5 separate regions of the Homo sapiens genome follow, and regions 1, 2, 4 and 5 are each linked to region 3. The links are contacts of gene promoters, found by promoter capture Hi-C in blood cells and fetal thymus (Javierre and others, 2016). All regions are on one chromosome and are shown on one strand. Each heading gives the region's core, a stretch centred on a gene start or on the middle of the fragment in contact. The rest is flanking DNA. Distances are from core to core; before and after follow the strand shown.

Evidence for each region. Contacts are between HindIII fragments. The CHiCAGO score rates a contact against its expected background, and 5 or more counts as called.
Region 1: a contact is called between a fragment that was not itself captured here and the fragment with the promoter of MYL10 in region 3, in 15 of 17 cell types (total CD4 T cells, fetal thymus, M1 macrophages and 12 more). The highest score is 15.0, in total CD4 T cells.
Region 2: a contact is called between a fragment that was not itself captured here and the fragment with the promoter of MYL10 in region 3, in 3 of 17 cell types (naive B cells, endothelial precursors and non-activated CD4 T cells). The highest score is 5.9, in naive B cells.
Region 4: a contact is called between a fragment that was not itself captured here and the fragment with the promoter of MYL10 in region 3, in 4 of 17 cell types (fetal thymus, activated CD4 T cells, monocytes and 1 more). The highest score is 8.5, in fetal thymus.
Region 5: a fragment that was not itself captured here is called in contact with the fragment with the promoter of MYL10 in region 3 in 1 of 17 cell types (M0 macrophages); the score reaches 6.1 in M0 macrophages.

What each region holds. Positions count from the first base shown.
Region 1 is chr7:102,254,335-102,257,090 of GRCh38, reverse strand. It overlaps CUX1 (cut like homeobox 1), which reads right to left. Exons shown (of 24, transcript NM_181552.4): 24 at 1-2,756. Among named protein-coding and RNA genes, the nearest start is that of SH2B2, 31 kb to the left of the region's middle. The HindIII fragment of the contact is 349 bases long and covers 1,121-1,469 here.
Region 2 is chr7:102,190,410-102,193,178 of GRCh38, reverse strand. The region is part of intron 12 of CUX1 (cut like homeobox 1); the gene reads right to left. Among named protein-coding and RNA genes, the nearest start is that of SH2B2, 95 kb to the left of the region's middle. The HindIII fragment of the contact is 2,866 bases long and covers 1-2,769 here.
Region 3 is chr7:101,627,863-101,630,681 of GRCh38, reverse strand. MYL10 (myosin light chain 10) reads left to right here and starts at 1,386. Exons shown (of 8, transcript NM_138403.5): 1 at 1,386-1,641. The coding sequence starts at 1,564. The HindIII fragment of the contact is 16,008 bases long and covers 468-2,819 here.
Region 4 is chr7:102,209,788-102,212,487 of GRCh38, reverse strand. The region is part of intron 20 of CUX1 (cut like homeobox 1); the gene reads right to left. Among named protein-coding and RNA genes, the nearest start is that of SH2B2, 76 kb to the left of the region's middle. RefSeq lists an enhancer at 394-703. The HindIII fragment of the contact is 5,067 bases long and covers 1-2,700 here.
Region 5 is chr7:102,162,740-102,165,552 of GRCh38, reverse strand. All of the region lies in intron 9 of CUX1 (cut like homeobox 1), which reads right to left. Among named protein-coding and RNA genes, the nearest start is that of SH2B2, 120 kb to the left of the region's middle. RefSeq lists enhancers at 679-1,572, 1,573-2,468. The HindIII fragment of the contact is 2,528 bases long and covers 206-2,733 here.

The DNA.
Region 1 (2,756 bases), core at 46-2,545, 630 kb before region 3:
ACACCTGATTGGCAACAACTGGGTGTCCTGCTGGCTGAGCTTGGGGCCACAGCAAGCAATCTCCACACCCAACCTTCCTCCACGTTGAACCACCTATAGGGGAAAGGGGCCCTCTGCCTATGATCTCCTAGGTGAGCCCTCAAGCCACAGCCTGGTACTACAAAACACTGTTGCTTTGAAAGATGGTTTTGACCAACTTTGTACGCAAGAAAAACAACAACAAAAAACCAACCAAAACGTATCAACCCATGCGGGCCTTGCAAGAAATCACTCTCTCGCTTGGAGGTAAAGTCTTGGCCAGGCCACCGCGCCCTCTCTGACCACGGCTCGCCGAAACTTCATGAACCCAGAAGTCTTACCAGAGGCTCTAGGAGGCTTTGGGGAACTGAACTTGGCTTTGCTAAGATTCCTCTGAAGCTCCTCAAGCGAGCATTCTTCAACTCAGCAACTCCCTCACACGTTGGTAAATTTTTTTGTTCATAAACACTCTCATTTAAAAAGTTAGACACATAGAGACCACCAGTTTTTGAGTGGCTACTCTGGAGACAGGTGTTTGATTTTGCTGGGGAAACCCCCTCTGCCCCCCAGTCAATCCCCCAGACGCCTTGGTTCTCTGGGGGAGTAGGGGAGGAGAGGAAGGCAGAGGATAGTAACCACTAGAGTGACAGCAAAAAGCATTTATGACAACAAAACACAAAATAACAATACACTCCTGATAAGTACTTAAATGATTAACCTAATAATAAATAGAAGAGGATAGAAATAATTTTTTTTTTCTCAAGGAAACATCCTTTTATAATCACCCTCACGCACGCCGGCAGGTCAGTAGCAGTCAGTCCATTTCAACAAGACAAGATTAAGTGCTGGAAGGGATGGCTGTGGCCTCAGACACTGGGGAAGGGTCTCAGCTTCTGAATCACGGATACTCCCTATCCTGCCTCGTCAGGCCAGCGGCTCCGGCCAGAGCCCGCGGGCCCTGCACGCCCAGCACAGTGGTCACCAAGAGGCAGGCTGGGAGACTGGAGGGAGTCGGGGAGGCCTGTTTTCCCTTCGGTTCATGAACAAACGGAACTACAGTGAACAAACTCATTCATAACCTGAATCGTCCTGGTCTAAAGCTTACTTTGAGTTCATTTGGTGTGCAATACGTTATTTTTTTAAAATGAAGAAAAATGATTTCAATTGCACAGAGCTTTTACACATAGTCATCTATTTAAGTGCTTTCCGTTTAAAGCAAAGTACAAAAAAAATAATAAAATAATAAAAAAGAAGAAGGAAAAGGGGGGAAAAAAGAATTATAAAACAAAAGCAGCTCCGTGCCACTTCAATGTGTCTTGCTGAATGGTCTCTTGTTTCACCAGCAGAAGTCCCAATGCTTCCGTACACACTGTGCTTCTGATTAATTTCCATAGGGATGTAGCCGTGACATTGGGATATAAGGCACCTTTTCTTTCTGATTACAGAAAGCTTGATACATAGCATATAGCATATTTTGTGGTAGAAATTAAAGCGTAAACACTACAGAAATTACAGTAACGTAGACTAATGCTTTCTTAACATTATCGGGTAAACTAAAAGGATTCATGAAAAGCAACTCAAAGGCATCTTAAGAGTTTAAGAACGGGGGCATGGGGGAAGTGCACATTTATGCATAGCCAAATGTCTTTCTCTCGCCAGCCTTTTTTTTTTGTCTTTTTTTTTTTTTGGGATTTTTCGCCTACAATGCCCAACTTTTAAAGTTAGCATTTTGGAGGAGACTAGGCGCTTTGGAAATGTCTTGTTAAAGCTAAATGTCACTTCATCCAAAAATGAAAACTCGAGATGATGCCACGGATGGCATGGACACGGTTATCTTTGGAGGGAAGGTGGTGGTGGGAGAGGCCTGGGCAGGAGGAGGCAGTTTTTGGAAGTCGGGCAGACAGGCGGAAATTGCATTTCCTTCTATTCCCCTGACCAGGGTGGTGAGGAGCACAGGCCGCCGGGGCCTCTGGGATTGGGAAGACTGGGCTGGGGGGCCGGGAGTAGGGCTGGGGCTTGTTTTACGCTCTGCCCCCCACACCCCCTCCTCTTCCGTCCTGATTAAGCCCAAGGGTTGGTGGACTTAACTTTCAGCCCATCTCTAAGGGTTTCACAGACTGGATCTTTCTAAACTTTATTGGGTACCTGCTTCCCCTTTTCCCTGGTAGTTTTCATCTACAAAAAGTCAAAACCTGATCGAAATAGAAATAAGATCATCAAATTGGACCATTCTCTTAGCGTTCGAGTGTGCCGGCCAGACTGGCATTCAGTACACGCTGAGATCCAACCACATCACACTGGCCTCAGGTCACCACCTCGCCACTCAGGGCACAAGCCCTGCCCTTGTGGTCACAAAGGCTTCCCTAATGTCGTCGATGCCCAGGTGAAACCACAGAAGCACTGAGGGCTTTCTAAATGTGAGCTTTGGCTGGTCAATGCCCAAGCACAGGATGCTGTCCCCATCCTTAGGTTCTTACTTGCAAACTGTCTCCAGCAGGGGAACACTTTGGCCCCCACAGTGGACAGACCCACCTCCAACCACCAGCCCCAGGAGCTGATTTTCTTCGGTGCTGGATGGGAACTGGCATATTCTTTTGGGATAAGAGGGTGATGCCACTGTGGACGGGGCGTGTAGGCTGGAGGAAGCCATCTATCCTTTTCCGTCTTTGAGATGTTTGATGTTTGCAAAGGAGTGTTCGCAGTGACGCTAAAACCATGCCAGAGACAAGAGACACCCA
Region 2 (2,769 bases), core at 123-2,622, 560 kb before region 3:
CTGCCCACACCTCACTCCTAACTGGCACCTACCTGGGGACCAGGGGACATAGGCAAAGAGCAACCTCCTAGACTTGGATGACTCAGAAGCCAGGTGGGCAGACCTTCTCTGCAGCCCCAGGTTGGGGAAGGAGTGCAATGACAAAGATGTGGCAAGAGAAGGTGACTTCTCCCTCCCTTGTTCTCAATGGCACTGAAAAGGGCCGCACCCTGATCACTACGGTCTCTGGGCTGTCTCAGTGAGTCCAGGTCCCCAGGATTATTACTGTTTCTTGAGTTCCTTTTGCTGTGGATGTCCCTTTTTTGCTGAGTTTACCAGGGAGAAGAGGGGAAGTGAGGCTATGTGGCTTTGAAGGAGCTGCAAGTGTTTCTTTGAAATACCAAGGATGGAAGAGAGAGACCCAGAGCAGGCTGGCTGGACCGTGAGATTTACGACTCGCAGGTGCAGAGTCAACCGGACCTTCGCCATGTTCCTGCAGCCACAATTTCGGCCTCTGTCCCCCTAGTGTGAGCCACCACACCTGGATAATTTATTTTTAGTAGAGACGGTTTTGGCCAAGCTGGTTTCCTGACCTCAGGTGATCTGTCGGCCTCCCAAAGTGCTGGGATTACAGATGTGAGCCACTGCGCCCAGCTGAAAGGGGTTTCTTAAGATGGAATCCTGTCCTTCGTTTCCTATTTTCTTTAGGATTATGTAATAAAAGACCACGTGGCTCTTTATCTATTCTACAGATCTTTACCAGCAGCCTGCTATCCGCTTGTTGCCGTGGGGAATCAGAACCACTCCTGGTCCGTACTCCAGGAAATTTACAGGCCATTACAGGTAATAGGCAAGACTCCAAGTGGTCCATTAAGACAGAACTTGTGAGGACCCCAGCAGGAGGGATCTTGATGGATTGGAGACCACGTCTCAGTGTCATGATGAACAAGCATTGGAGAAGGGCCCTGAAGGGACAGGGTGTCTTGTGCTGCAGTGCATGAGGATCTGAGGTCAGCATCCCCTGTTGCGTGGGGGTGAGGAAGTGGAAATGGGACGATGCTGAGAAGGGGACGCGGGCAAGAGCTCAAGAGCACAGCTGGTTCACCAGGAAGTGGAAAACTAGGAGCGCATTTGGGCAAAGAAGCCACCTGAGTGGGGCTTCCAGATGTGCACATGGTGGTGGGGCCTGTCATGTGCGGACGCAACAGAAAGAGTTAGCAGAAATGCAGTGACAAGCGGGGCTGGTGTGGCAGCCCTTCAGTGGGGGTAGGGGCAGCCTGTGGTCCGGCAGGCTGTGGATGAGAGGGAGTAGAACGGTATGTGTTGCAGGCTGGAGCCTGGAAGCCTCAGCTCCCAGGGGATGAAGTGAACGTGGGGGTTGGGGGAGAAGAGGAGGAGGAGGAGGAGCAAGAGGAAGAAGAAGAGGAAGAGGAAGAAAGAAGAAGAGGAGGAGGAAGAAAGAAGAAGAGAGGAAGAAAGAAGAAGACAACGAAGACGACAATGAAGACGACGACTAACTCCCAGGGTGAGGCTGGGCAAAGGCCTTCGCAGCAGTTTCTCTGGCTCAAAATTAAAAGGCCCAATTTCTTTTTCTTTTTGGAAGAGGGAAGAAGAGGGAAAGGAAGGAAAGAATGGGATAGGAGAGGCAGGTAGAGAAGGTTAACCAGGTAATGTTTAATAATAAGTTACATGTAATCCCGGCACTTTGGGAGGCTGAGGTGGGTGGATCACCTGAGGTCGGGAGATTGAGACCAGCCTGACCAACATGGAGAAACCCCATCTCTACCAAAAATACAAAATTAGCCCGGGGTGGTGGCTCATGCCCGTAATCCCAGCTACTTGTGAGGCTGAGGCAGGAGAATCGCTTGAACTCGGGAGGCGGAGGTTGCGGTGAGCCGAGATAGCACCATTGCACTCCAGCCTGGGCAACAAGAGCTAAACTCTGTCAAATAAATAAATAAGTAAGCAAGCAAGTAAGTAAGTTACAGAGGCTGGAACTGTTAGAGGGATGTAGGGGTCTGTCCGAGGAGGTGCCGGCAGAGGCTTTGCAGCTGGAGAGGGGATGAGACCGCTCAGGGGGAGAGCATGGTGGGGACAGGGACTACCAGGGCCAGCAGACGCCAGGGAGGCTGGGGGTCCCAGGCGAGAGAAGGCAGCTGGTCATGGAAGTGAGATGGTTCAAGAGGATGCCCGAGGAGCTTTTCTTAGCAGAATGGAATTAACAACACAAAGAAAACGTGGTGAGTGGGTGTAGGCTCATCTTAAAAGGAGAAATGGAAAATAGCAGCAAGAGAGAAAGGGGCTGATGGGACAGCAGGAGGGGCAGGAAGGAAGGGACTCAAGGTCTAGGCAGAGGGGGCAGCCTGCAGAGATGGGAGGTGGCACCCAAGACCAGAGGCGGGAGTCTGTCCCTAGCAGAGGGCTAGGGCATCTGTGGATAGTGGTTGGGGTAACAGTGACAAGGGCAGGGAGGAACCCCTGAGGAAGCCTCGAACCAGCAGAGCTCCAGCCGCGAGAAGCACGGGGGACCTGTGGGGCTGGTCACCATGCCCTAGGCAACCTTCGTTTGCAGTGCTTAATAACCTAGGAGTGAGGCGGGCATGCCAGTGGGAAGGCTTGGAATGGCTGACGATCCAGGGGAGCTGTATGAACGTAGAGGGTCTGACCACAGGCTCCAGGCTTGCAGGGGAGGTCAGTGAGCCTGGAGCATTATGGATGTGGGGGGACAGGTAAAGACCAGGACCTGGGAGCTCCAGAGTGCCAAAGCAGGCTCAGGGTGAGGAGGCAGAG
Region 3 (2,819 bases), core at 137-2,636:
AGCAGGAGTTATAGGTCTGCTACCCACTCTGTAAGCCCAGAGCCAGGAGGCCCCAGGGCCAGGCTCACAGACCGGGCATGGAAAGCCTGCACCCTAGCCACTGTCGCGGTCACACAGGCCCCCTTCTGTAGCAGGTCCAGGCGGCTGGGACTGGAATCCAGGCTCCCGTCCCCAGAGCTGGGTTCTCCTTTCCGCCTGGCTTGTTGAACACCTGTGGAACGTGTGGTTTTTCTCCCCGGAGAGGAACGCCAGGACACCAGGAGAGCAGCCCTGTCGGGGAAACTGAGGCACACGGTTTCCTGCTGCAGAAAGCGGGCTGCACAGCATCATGGCTGGACCTGGCCCCAGCTCTGGGAGGAGCACTCAGTCACAGGAGTTTAGGGACATCAGAAATAGCTGTAGTCAGGGATGACTGGGAGGGAGCAGGAGGAGGGGAGAGTTTGGATGAGCAGAACCTTTTGGAAGCTTCCTTCTGGAAACACTAGAAAGAGGGGCTCTTGTCCTGGCCCTCCCTCTCTCTCTCTCTTTTTTTTTTTTTTTTTTTTTGTTTTAGAAATGAGACCTTGATCTGTTGTCCAGGCTGGAGTGCAGTGGTGCAATCACAGCTCATTGAAGCCTCAACCTCCTGGGCTCATGTGATCCTCCCACCTCAGCCTCCTAAGTAGCTGGGCCTGCAGGCATGTGCCACTGATACAGGAGGGGGGACAGGGAAGTGCTGAGAGGAGAAAGGCAGGGTCCCTGGCAAGGGCTCCACCCTTGGGCCTGTGCCCACGGACCTAGGTGAGGACAGGCACTCCTGTTTATATGCCCAAATGTCACATTTTCCAAGACCACCCTGGCCCACCACGCCCCCCGCCCCCCCGCCCATCCTGTGCCTATGAAAACCCTGAGACCCCAGTGGGTACACACACAGGTGGCTGGACATCAAGAGGAGCAGAGGATCGGAAGAGCACACCGACAGCACTGGCAGATGCTGGCAGGCCATCGACTGGCTGAATAACACAAATGCCCAGGGGAATTTGGCTGGGGATGGTCAGAGGAGAGTCTGGCTGCTGAGCACCTTGACTTCAGGGGAAAAATCACCTTCCCACTCCATCCCCCTTCTGGCTCCCCATCATCTGCTGAGAGCTACTTCCACCACTCAATAAAACCTCGCACTCATTCTCCAAGCCCACATGTGATTCAATTTTCACAGTACACCAAGGCAAGAACCCCAGGATACAAAAAGCCCTTTGTCCTTGCAATAAGGCAGAGGGTCTAACTGAGCTGATGAACACAAGCCACCTACAGATGGCAAAAGTAAAAGAGCATCCTGTAACACACGCCCACTGGGGCTTCAGGAGCTGTAAGCATCCACCCCTAGACACTGCCGTGGGGTCGGAGCCCCATAGCCTGCCTGTCTGCATGGTCCGCCTAGAGGTTTGAGCAGCTGGGCATGGAAGAAGCGAGCCACACCCCCATCGCATGCCCTATGAACGGGATAAGGGAACTTTTTCACTTCACCACTATGCCTGACTAATTTTTTAATTAAAAAAAATTTTTTTGTAGAAACAGAGTTTCACCATGTTGCTTAGGCTGGTCTCAAACTCCTGGCCTCAAGTGATCCTCCCTCCTCGGCCTCCCAAAGTGCTGGGATTACAGGTATGAGCCACTGTGCCTGGCCTCTGGCCCCACTTCTTATCTGCCTTGGGTGAGTGACTTAACCCATGCGTGCCTCAGTTTCCTCATCTGGAAAATGGGATATGGATTGAATGTGAGGACACGTGTTTTAAGACATGGCCTGACCTTCTGTGTTGTATATTAGCTGCTCTTCTTATTATTATTATGATATTCCCTTCCCCAAAGGCAGGGGATCAGCTGTACCCGGGGCTGAAGGCCTGAGGCCAGCTCCAGGGACAGTTAAGCTCTCCAGCCCCTGGGGACCCGTGGGCTCACTGCCTGAACCCAGCACTGCCGGCCCTGGCAGCTGTTCAGATATGGCGGGCCCCAGATGGACAGTGGCAGCCTCTGAGGCCGAGCTGGGGCTGCTGGGGCTGCACTAGACACAGGAGGGGCTTTCCAGGGCAGGTGTGGGCTCTGTTTGGCAGATCTACTAGAGAATTCTTGGGCTGGGCCAGGCCTGGTGGGGATGGATGTGTGTGTGTGAGGCCAGGGTGGAATGGAGGTCTCATTTTTCAGTTCTTCCTCATCAGAGTCACCTCCAGTTTTCTGTTTTCTTTTTTTTAAGAGACAATATCTCACTCTGTCGCCCAGGCTGGAGTGCAGTGGCACAATCATAGATCACTGCAGCCTCAAACTCCTGGACTCAAGCAATCCTCCTGCCTCAGCCTCCTGAGTAGGTGGGACTACAAGAGCACACCACCATGCTCGGCTAATTTTTTTGATATTTTGTAGAGATAGGGGTCTCACTATGTTGCCCAGGCTGGTCTTGAACTCCTGGCCTGAAGCGATCCTTCCCTCTTGGCCTCCGAAAGCTCTGGGATTACAGGCGTGAGCCACTGCGCCCACCCCATTTTTCTTTTATTTGTCCTGTTGCTTTCTCTGTTCATTGAGCATTTCAGTGCCCTGAGGGGGTCCCCTGGCCTGGGGGTGCTTAATGGACACCCTGATAATAGGCATATTGGTAGAAGGGGCCCCCGAGGGCCAGGTTGGTGCAGAAACTCTCTCCATAAGCAGACCGGGGGTTTCATACACTCCCCCCTATTCCTATGAGATGGCTGAGCCTCCTAGAGGGTGATGTCCCACCCAGAGTCCCACAGCTCCAGAGGTCCGGCCACACTGCAGTCTGAGTGGGTCCCAGCCAGCATGGGTGGCCCCAC
Region 4 (2,700 bases), core at 53-2,552, 580 kb before region 3:
GACTTCCCTCTCTTTGGGTGAGGCACAGGGACAAATTCTGCTCTAGGAACAGAGACTTTGGGGGGCCGAGTTCTGGCAAAGCAGCCTTCCCCAAGGGTGTGTGACGAGTGGTGCTGGAAGGTGGGACTGCAGGGTGCTGGGGCGGTGCTGGCAGCCTGCGTAGGCTGCCTTGCTCACTTGATGACAGCGACGTTTGTTGCTTTGAAACAAAACCTAAAGTGGGCTGTGGTACTCAGCACTGGCTGCCCCTGACATCTGTGCAGGATCTGTGTGTGCAGGGTCCCCCAGGCAGGGCTGTCCTAGGAACAAAAGACCCTTCAAATACCCATGTTCTCCTGCATAAATGTCACAGGGTGCTGGTTCCAGCAACATGTGGCCAGCCCCCATCTTGAATCCCACAAGCATCTGGAGGCGCTTGGGGAACTGAACAAGCAGGTCACGCACAGTGACAAAGGGGCTTTCCGGCAAGGTCCCTGAGTGATCCCTATACATCACACATCAAGGAACTTTTGAGAAGCGCATGTGCCCTTCCTCCTGTGGCTCTTGGGGCGGCCCCCCAGCCTCATCTCATCAGCCGGGACTTCCCGTGCTGCTCCCGCGCGGCCTGCCTCACCTGCCTCTGGAAGGGTTCACAGTGGCACAGCCAGTCCCTTTGCATCTTAGCTCAGCCGAGATCAGGTTGAGTTTTTTTTTTTTTTTTTTTTTTTTTAGATGGAGTTTCACTCTTGTCACCCTGCTGGAGTGCAATAGTGCAATCTCGGCCCACTGCAACCTGGGTCTCTCGGGTTCAAGCAATTCTCCTGCCTCAGCCTCCCAAGGAGCTGGATTACAGGTGTGCACCACCACGCCTGGCTAATTTTTGTATTTTTACTAGAGACGGGGTTTCCCCATGTTGGCCAGGCTGGTCTCGAACTCCTGACGTCAGGTGATGCACCTGCCTCGGCCTCTCAAAGTGCTGGGATTACAGGTGTGAGCCACTGCGCCCAGCCGAAAAGCTGATTCTTTAATGTCTCCAATTGAAGAGGTATTCTTTTTTTGCGGGCGGAGAGGGTCTCGCTTTGTCACCCAGGCTGCAGTGCAGTGATGCTATCATTGCTCACTGCAGCCTCCACCTCCTGGGTTCAAGTGATACTCTTGCCTCAGCCTCCTGAGTAGCAGGGATCACAGGTGCAAGCCACCATGCCTGACTTATTTTTATATTTTTAGTAGAGACCGAGTTTCACCATGTTGGCCAGGCTGGTCTCAAACTTCTGACCTCAAGTGATCCACCCACCTCGGCCTCCCAAAGGGCTGGGATTACAGGTGTGAGCCACCGCGCCTGGCCCCTGCCTGCTTTAGACAGTGCTGTGGAATGCCCAGGGGTGCAATCAGCCTCTCCTGTCCCTATGAACATGCTATCCACATGCCCCCGACACTGACTGTTAGCCATGAATGTGGGAGAGCCGACTGACTGCTTATCAAGGACACTGCTTTAGAATCTTACTGCAGAGTTCAAAGCTCACGAGCCCTGGACACGTGTTCCTGGCTGTCTGGTGGGAACCAGCTAAGAGCCATGACCATGATACGCATGCACATTCAAAAGGAACGTGGACCTGTCCGCGATAGGGGCTGCAGCCAAGGGGAATCTCCTGGTTGTACAAGGTCATGGACAGCCCACGGCCCCGTGGGCTTCACGTCAAAGAGGGGCACACATTGGACCACCCACATTAGAGACAGACCATAGCAGCTGTCTTCTCAAAGAGGCAACTGATACTCTGTTGGCTGACTGGGAACAGCAACAGGCAGCAGAGAAGGCTTGGAACCCATCATTCCTAACACGCCAGGAAAGAGCTGGGTATTTCACGATTCAGCCAAGGGCAGGGGACCATCCTTCCACCTGGATAGCCATAATACACCTGAAGCCAGTGTGAATGCAGACGTAACAGCTTGTTAGCCACAGCAATGAAACGCTCCCACATTAAAAAGTTACAAAGTGGCCGGGTATGGTGGCTCACATCGGTAATCCCAGCACTTTGGGAGGCCAGGAGTTTGAGACCAGCCCTGGCAACAGAGACCAGGTTACTTGGGTATTTGGAAATAAAGAATAAAAAAGGCCGGGTGTGGTGACTTACACCTGTAATCCTAGCACTTTGGGAGGCCAAGGTGGGAGGATCACCCGAGGTCAGGAGTTGGAGACTAGCCTGGCCAACATGGTGAAACCCCATCTCTATTAAAAATACAAAAATTACCTGGGTGTGGTGGCAGGCACCTGTAATCCCAGCTACTTGGGAGGCTGAGGAAGGAGAATTACTTGAACCCCGGAGGTGTAGGTTGCAGTGAGTCGAGATCGCGCCACTGCACTCCAGCCCAGGTGACAGAACGAGACTCCATCTCAAAAAACAAAAACAAAAACGAATAAAAAAGAGAGACCCACTTCTACAAAAAATAAAAAAATTAGCTGAGTGTGGTGGAAAGTGTCTATAAGTCCCAGCTACTCAGGAGGCTGAGGAGAGAGGATTGTTTGAGCCTGAGAGATTGAGGCTGTATTGAGCTGTGATTGTGTCACTGCACTCCAGCCTGGGCAACAGAGTGAGTCCCCGTCTGTCTATAAAAAATAAATAAAATAAATAGAATAAGATACAATAAATTGCTAAATGATAAGAAGGCCACACTCTGAGCAAACAAGCCTTAATGAGCCTCTACCTTCTCCTCTATGAACAT
Region 5 (2,813 bases), core at 220-2,719, 530 kb before region 3:
TCTCTACTAAAAATACAAAAATTAGCTGGGCGTGGGGGTGTGCACCTGTAGTCCCAGCTACTTGGGAGACTGAGACATGAGAATTGGCATGAGAATTGCTTGAATCTGGGAGGGGGAGGGTGCAGTGAGTCAAGATCACGCCACTGAACTCCAGCCTGGGTCACAGGGTGAGACTCCATCTCAAAAAAAAAAAAAAAAAAAAGCTTTCCCCTAACCGCAGTGCCCGATTGGGATGTGAATACAGGATGTAGACAGCTACTTCCAGGCCTCTAAAGTCTGAACAATTTGACTCATAAAACGTGGTAAGGCATCATGGGAAGGACACAGAGAGGGGTGGGCTTGCAGAGGATAAAGACAGGGCCTTGGGCCAGCTGCAGCCTGGTGGGGCGAAGGTGTGGGGAGAGGGCTGGGGGGTCTCATGTGCGACATGGCCCCAGACCTGTGGAGAGGTGGCTGTGGTTAGGAATTCTCTTGGGAGGCTCATTTTCTTCTCCCTCTGGAACCAACAAGAGAGAACCCTCACCGTCTCCCCTTTAAGGGCAGACTCCTTCCCCCACCCTGCCAGTTTACACTTTCAGAGTGTGGCCTTTGAAGTCCCTGGTTTTATATGGCGGGGGAGGGGGGTTTTCTCTGATCCAATCTTCCACCCCCTTCTTGGCCCCAGGTTTTGTCTCTTGTTCTCTGCTTGCATGGCCATTAAAACTCAGGCTTGAGGACACCAGAGATGAGCAAGTCCCCCGAGGAACAAAGTAGACCCAGGAGCTGATGATGGGCTAAGGCCCTGCTGCCCTACCCGCAGCATGCAATTACAGTGAACATCTCGACTCCCAGAGGTAACTCCATGTCACTGACTCTGCAGGAAGGAGGTCGGGAACAGCTACCACAGCTGGAGACCAAATGCTGACCACCACGTGTCCCACGCTGATGCTGCACCAGTGGCCAAGGCCTCCATGGAGACCCACTCTCCGTGGTGAGGGTCAGCTGTGGTTTCCAACCCCTAACCTCAACCTGGAGAGTCCTCCACTAGGGCAGTCTTGTGACATAAACACCAGGCAGGTGAACAGGAAGAGGGCAGCTCACTTCAATGACTCCCTCCCAGCCCCACTGTGGGCTAGGAGAACATGCCACTGCGCTCCAGCCTGTGCGTCAAAGCCCATATTCATTCAATACATCTTTTTGAGCACGGACTCTGAGCAGGCCTCGTAGGTAGTAAAGAAATGCTGGCTTCAAAGCCGGGCGCAGTAGCTCATGCCTGTAGTCCCAGTACTTTGGTAGGCCAAGGCGAGAGGATAGCTTGAGCCCAGGAGTTTGAGACCCACCAGCAACTCGGATCACCACTGCTCAGAAAGGAGGCCCCGGAGGGGTGGTGGGCGGGCCACTTTTTTTCACCACAAAAAGGCTGTGAATTGCTGAAAGCCCCCGGACGGGACGGGGTTTCACATGCAGTTCAAAGTGTAAAGCTGTGGCTTCTTATTGACCATGAAGTCTCAAGAGATCTGATCCTTTACTGTCACCAATTGGGACAGTGAGTATTTATGCCAGTGCCCTGATGTTCAACAAACAGGTGTGAATGAGGCTCGGACATAACTGACAGGTGCCGACCCCTCTGCTACTTCTCCATAACAGGAGCACAGTGGTTGAGCAATAAACGAGCACTTCAGGTCTCCGTAGAACATTCTAACTACACACCCAGGGAAAACGAATGTTGTATGCCAGTGAGCTAGTAAATTGCTCCTCCTGGGGGGTTTCCTGATGGGAAAGGTGTTGGTCCAGATGCCTGCCACCTGCACCAGTGTTGGACTGTGTCTGCGCCCTCCTCTTCCTGCCCAGCCCGCCTCCAGCTCACCTCCGCAGGGATGGCCTCAGCTCAGGCCCATGCCATCTCTCCCCATACTTACACAATAGCCTCCCACAGCTCTCCTGGCTTCTGGTCTTTCCACTCCCATCTGTTCTCCAATGTATAGCCAGAGAGATCCTTCTAGAACTCAAACCTGATGTCTCAATCCCGCCTACGATTCTTCACTGCTCCCAGGATGAATCCTTCATACTCAGACCCTCCCACAGGCCTGGCCAGGTCCCGTCCTACCAGCCCACTCTCTGACCCGCATCTCTGGTGTTGGTTTTGAACTCTCGGGCCCAAGAGATCCTCCCATCTCAGCCTCCTGGGTTAGCTGGGACCACAGGTGCACACCACCACACCTGGCTATTTTTTTTTTTTTAAACTTTTTTGTAGAGAAAAAAGTCTCACTATGTTGCCCAGGCTGGTCTCAAACTCATGGGCTCAAGTGATGCTCCTGCCTCGGCCTCTCCAACTGCCGGTACTATAGGCACCGCCGCCACCATGCCTGGCTCTGGGCAGCTTTTCTCTTAGTTGATGGCCCAGGGCAACGTCCCCTTCTCTGGCTTTCCTTTAACCTTCCACTTCTTTTCCTGCTGGAAATATTCTCTCGATATTCCAAGGGCTTGCATCTTTCCTCCCTGGATGCTTCTCATGCCAATGGGTTCACCTGTAGCTTCACGAAATCCTAGACTTCAGGGTCAAAAGGGACCCTTTGAGCCTTCTTGTTCAATCCCTCCTTCGGTCCACTCTGTGCGTGATTCCCCATCTCATGCTCTCTGGGAGGGCTGGCCTGAATCTGCTTGCATAGCTCTGGTGACAGGGAGCTCACTCTCTCCAGAGCAAGCATCTTTCAGCGTGGCAACTCTGGAGAGCCAGACCACTGGGAATAAGCTTCCTGGCTGGGCATGGTGGCTGATGCCTGTAACCCCAGAACTTTGGGAGGCAGAGGTGGGTGGATCGTTTGAGCCCAGGA